Linked DNA regions of Homo sapiens: region 1 is linked to region 2. The links are contacts of gene promoters, found by promoter capture Hi-C in blood cells and fetal thymus (Javierre and others, 2016). All regions are on one chromosome and are shown on one strand. The core of a region is centred on a gene start or on the middle of the fragment in contact, and the rest is flanking DNA. Distances in the headings are between cores, read along the strand shown.

The links. The method cuts DNA at HindIII sites, captures the fragments that hold promoters and counts their contacts. A CHiCAGO score of 5 or more calls a contact.
Region 1: a fragment that was not itself captured here is called in contact with the fragment with the promoter of SESTD1 in region 2 in 1 of 17 cell types (M2 macrophages); the score reaches 5.3 in M2 macrophages.

What each region holds. Positions count from the first base shown.
Region 1 is chr2:181,247,802-181,250,577 of GRCh38, reverse strand. The region is part of intron 2 of LINC01934 (long intergenic non-protein coding RNA 1934); the gene reads right to left. Among named protein-coding and RNA genes, the nearest start is that of MIR4437, 56 kb to the left of the region's middle. The HindIII fragment of the contact is 3,598 bases long and covers 1-2,776 here.
Region 2 is chr2:179,263,460-179,266,199 of GRCh38, reverse strand. It overlaps SESTD1 (SEC14 and spectrin domain containing 1), which reads left to right and starts at 1,368. Exons shown (of 18, transcript NM_178123.5): 1 at 1,368-1,701. RefSeq lists silencers at 1,267-1,886, 1,897-1,966, 2,075-2,238 and an enhancer at 2,567-2,636. The HindIII fragment of the contact is 5,018 bases long and covers 1-2,740 here.

The sequences.
Region 1 (2,776 bases), core at 12-2,511, 2.0 Mb before region 2:
AATTAGATCCCTTCTGAAAAACAACTTAGGACTGTAACAATTCCATAAACTACTTTAGGAAAAAGCAAAGTCTTGGAGATGAGAGGAGGCCCATGGGTGGGGGTTGGGGGGCAGAGCTGGAGCTGGATTGAGCTTGCTTGAGTGACCTCTGGCCAGGCCACTGCTCTGATATTCAGAACCGTTAAATATTGGGCTTCAGTCTTACTGATATCTACAAGAACTTTCTAAAGGACAAGTAAGCCAGCTGTTGCTATTTATGAGACTTCGATAAAACAATCAAGAAAGAAAATATGAACCTGAACAGTTTAATATTACCCATAAATATTCTGCTAATTTACCTCAGCTAATGAGAGCTTCCAAAATAGTTCCTAAATCTTTTGCTGAACATCTGTGCTCAATGTGGGTAGTTATACTACCAAATAATCTCAGTTTTTGCTAATTTATTGCCATGAGTTAAGGTGCTAAAATTACAGAACATAATTAGTTATATGAAAATATATTACGTTTTATTTATTATGGTCTTTTTTGGTAAAACTCAATAAGTATTAGTTTAAAAAATCTTTTAGATAAAAATATCACAGAAATCCTTATAGATGAGGATAACATGAATTACTTGCTTAACTGATGGCATCTCAAGTTGGCATAGCTAATTTTGATTCTCTTTAGGTGAAGATATTCTTTGGCATTCATCATCTTTTCTCCCTTCTAGCTCAGTTTGGTCTGCTCCTTTATTTTCCAAAACTGAGCCAGGAGGATCATCCACAGCAGGGAATGGGCCTATATATCAAGCAATTAGATCGTTTACTCTGTTTGTAACCTCAAAGCTGAAAGATTATAAACTTCTTTGGTTCTTACAGATGATTTTACAATACACCACCCAAATCATTGGTCCCTGCACTATCTCCCTTGTATATTTGGAGGACATGAAGAGTGAGAGTGACAAAAGTAGCCAATGCAATGACTTTGACTCTTTGTGGTGCAGAAGATCACTAGAGAAGACTCTGCAAAATCCATGGCCCCCAAGTCCCTCCAATAACTATAAATATTTAATCTTCTTTTGAAGTCACACACCACAGATAGTTCTTAAGAGAAAAGATTAAGTTCAAAAGGAATACATAATACATACATACATGCATACGTAATTACAGGAGAAAATGAATCAATTGATTAGTTTGGTATTATTTTTATAAATCTAGGCCTAAAAGAATAAGTATTGACTGGGGGGAAACCCAGTAATTTTGAGGACAATAATGAAATTTTGATATAATCAAAGAGATAAAGGAAAAAGGAGAAGCAAAGATAAATTTGATAGCCAACTTCTATATTTTTTTCCATCATTAAAATGACTGAAAAAGTCACATTAAAGTCTGGGAACTTAATCATTATAGCAAAGAAAAAAAAAAACCCACAAACTCTGAAATCAGGAGAAAAGAAATCCTGAAATTAATACATGTACAAATAAAATGTATATTCTCTGGATAATATAAGGCAAAAAACCTCACCTTCTTTGGTTTGATTCTCAAATACTGAAGTCACAAATATTTTTCTAGCTTTTTTATCTAGATAAGCCTTGACATTTCATTCTACTTTGCAATTTTTAAATTGCATTTTGTTTCTAACAGAACTGGATGATGAGGAAGATGGAGATAGAGGTAATTATTTCCATTCTCCAAATGAATGAATGTTAACAAATTCTATGGAGAAAAATAGAATTGTCTTTTGTTTTTTTAAAAGTTTCTCTTGATTTAATATTAAATTTTAATATACTATGAAGAAAATGCCAATCAGAAATCATCTGAGGAAAATTCATGAAAAGATCCAAAAAATGCTGATAAATAAAAGCAGTGGGGGAAATAGTTCAAATAGATATTAACATATTTCAAAGCTAGCTTTTAAAAATATATTTTTGAACTAGTAAAGGAATAAACAGATATATCAATGGAACATGAAACAAAGATCAGAAAAAAGACAAGCAATAAGAATTTAATATATGGTAAAGTAACACTTCAAATCAGTGAGGAAAAAATGGATTATTCAACAAAATATGTTGAGCTCAAGGGTTGGTTATTAAATATATGTATACATGTATGTGTATGTATGTATACACATACATATGTATATGTAGCTACAAAATGCCTCCAGGTAAAGTTTTTAAAAGCCATAAAAATATTTGGAGAAAATGGATGTAAATATAATGTTTTCTTGATGAGGGAAAGGACTCTTTAAGATTTACAAAATTTAGACACCATAAAGTATGTAATTGGTAGATTTGACAATATGAAAATGTAAAACTTGTCTACATCAAGGAACATCATACATTTTTTTAAAAAAGGAAAAACAGGGACATAAACATTTGCAACATACATAACAGATATCATTTCTGTCTAATTTGAACATCTGAATCTATATGTACATATATATTTATAAAACAAACAATGTCTGGGGAATATTGACACAATGTATCTTTGCCCTATAGGGCAATCTCTGGTTCGTAGTTGCCTTGAGGCACCCATTCTACCTCGCCAAGACTAGTCAATTAAGTTCAGGGGGTTTCTTCCATGCCTTGACACTTACTGTCCCTAGGAACAGAATATGACATAAAGGAGATCAAATCCGACCAGAAGAGAAAGAAGAAAATCTGCCAATTCTATCCTAGTAGAGTGTGGAAAAGGGAAAAGTGGGGAAATAAAACGTCAGGTAAAATTATCTTAGCTCTTCACTCCTGAACCAAAATCCCAGATAGGAGTGGGGTTTTAGAAAGGTGGAGAGAAAAGCC
Region 2 (2,740 bases), core at 119-2,618:
CCTTTTAAGGAACACACAGTCTAGGAAGAAAAGGCCACCAAGCAAAGCAACAGGAAAAAAGCAAGTATTAAAGATTATCATAGGGAATACTGTAGATAGACGATTTTATGAAAGCAGAGAGAAAAAGAGTATTTAATTCATTGTAAATGTGTGGGGTAAGGATACAGATGTGGTGAAAGGAGATGATGTCAGGGAAGATTCCAAGGAGGAAGGGATGCATTATCTTCATTATCTTGAAGGACAATAGGAGTTCAACTGGTTAAATGAGGGATGGATTTCAGGTGGGGGAAAACTACAAGGGCACAAAGACAAAGTCTGTTGAATTTGTGTGATACGTAGATATATTAGGAGTTGAAGCTGGAGCCAAGGAGGTCAATAGATCAGATTTTAAATGGCTTTGTAAACCATGGTAATGAGTTTGAACCTGATTCAACCAGGTGGAGAGACTTTGAATGATTTTAAAGAGGGACGTTTCATGCTTAGCTCTGTCTTTTTGGAGCATTCTCTCTGGCAGTTATATGGAACTGAAGCAGCAGTGAAGTTAAAGGCTTGACCTAGAGTGGCAAAGAGGTGGAAGTCATGGAGACAGACTGATATTCACAGAATTAAGAGGAAGAATTAATCCACGGGATTTTAAGTCAGAAAACTTTAGTGGAGAGAAATTTGGTTGCTTAGTTGTTGGAATAGGAAGATTTTATCAACGGAATTAGGTGATACTGAAGTGAGTGGCTGAGTGAATAATATGGAAGTCTTGAAATTGGGACCACACAGCTGCTCTGATCTGGTGTGAATTTGCTGATGACTCTTTTGAACTGAATTCAGGAAATGACATACAAATGATTTGCGCAATAAAATGAAAACAAGGACTCTTAAGTCAGTATACTTGGAGAAAAATAACTAGGTTGGTAAAAATGGGGAAGTAGCCATTATCAGGGAGCCCCATTGTGGATTAATTTTGGACTGTCCAGTGGAAAGATCCTCAAAGCAAAACAAATGCCCTGAATCCAGCCCTTCCTCACCGCAACCCTTTCCCTTTCATCTGCCTTCATCCTTCAGCCACACCACCGCTTGGCAGTGAGTACTTGGGAGCAGCTCTTGGAGACTTTGTACTCGAACCTTCGAACTCCAGCATGAGGCCAGAGGAAATAAATGACCTGCCAGGGTGTCAAGTAACGGACCCTCTCTTAAGCCCAGACTTCTGACTCCAGATCTAGGTACCCTTCCACTCTCCAAGACTGCCTCCCGCCTGGGGAGCCTGGGCCTCGGCTAGGGGTGGGGACGGCAGGGTCCGTCCGGAGCGCCAGAGTCCCACTCGCGCCCAGCCCTCAGCCCCAGGCCCGGTTGGACGCCCCGCCCCGCCCCGCCTCCTTCCTCCTTCCCGCGCCGGGCGGGTTGCTGTACCGCCGTCACCCGGGCGCGCGCGGGGTCGCGCGGACGCGGCTCGGGCCGCGGGTGCCGAGAGGTCGCCGGGCCACCCGCACCCCCGCTCCCCGCCTGACGCACGGAGGGGCCGGGACGCGATTTGCCGCGAGTGACTGGAGCCGCAGCCGTCGCCGCTGCTGCCGCCGCCGCCCGGGCCCGCTCCGCCCCCAGCCCGCCTTCCTCCCGCCGCGCCCTCCGCCTCCGCCCGCACCTCGCTAGCGTTCCCCTGTCTTCCCCAACGCCCCGGAGCCGCCGGCCGCTAGCGTCAGCGCCAGCCAGGTGAGTGTGGCCGCCGCTCGGCCCGGGCGGGAGAAGCGCGCAGGCCCCGCGGCCGGGTGGCCGGCTTGGGCCGGTGCAGTCGGCGGCGGCGGCGGTAGCGGGCCCGGCTTTCTTCCCCTGCGCGGGCCGCGGGGCGGAGGGGCTACGCAGTGAAGGAGGGGCGCCCCCGCCCCGCCACCGCCTCTGCTCCCAACGCCCCGACCGCCCCCACCGCCTTGCCGCCACAGACAAAGCGCCGGAGGTGGGAGCCCTGCGGGCCGCCTTTGCCTCCGCGCCGTCTGCCGGGTGCGGCCGCGGCCCGCAGAGACCGGGCCGCGCGCTTTTCCGTTCCTGAGCGCCCTTGTTCATTTCTGGGTGAAAGGGACCCGAATTGTGCAACAGGTTTGGGCGTTAGTCCTTATTTTCCAGCGGGTCTCTTTTGCCAGCGTGCAGGAACCAGATGTGGCTCCCTGCTCTCGGGCGAGTCCCGCGTCCAGCGCCCGCGACTGGCTCCTTTGTGTGACCGGTGACCGGCCCTGTCGGGTGGGTGGAGGACACGGGCTCGAGGCCCCAGGGCTGCGCCGAGGCTCCTGGACGCCTCCTCAGGTCGCGGGGCTTGGCTTCCACGGGCCTGCCAGAGGTTAACATCCCTCCAGCGTTTGGGAGAGTCACAAAGGGGAGGAGAGAGAGGGTTGGCCAGGGTCTGTGGTTGTGTTTATTTTTCTATTTTAGGTAGACTCATATTAGAAAAGAGCCGCAGTCTGACCAGCTCTTGAGGGTACGGGTGGGATTTCACCCTGGGATGCACGGTTTGGACTTGGCTGTTGCTCTGACAGCCCCCGTGGTTTTCTTGGTGCTTTGACATCTTTCTCTTACACACAGACATCGCGGGAGAAGTTGGGAGTGCTGCCGAGGGAGTAACTAGATAGCAGCTGTTTGACAGGTCGTCTCTTACTTCACGTTTTGCTTGTGTCAAGCATGCCCACTATGTATCCCAGCATAGCTTGGCAAACCGTCAAATTTAAATTGCCACTCAAAATCCTAATCCTTATACATACCT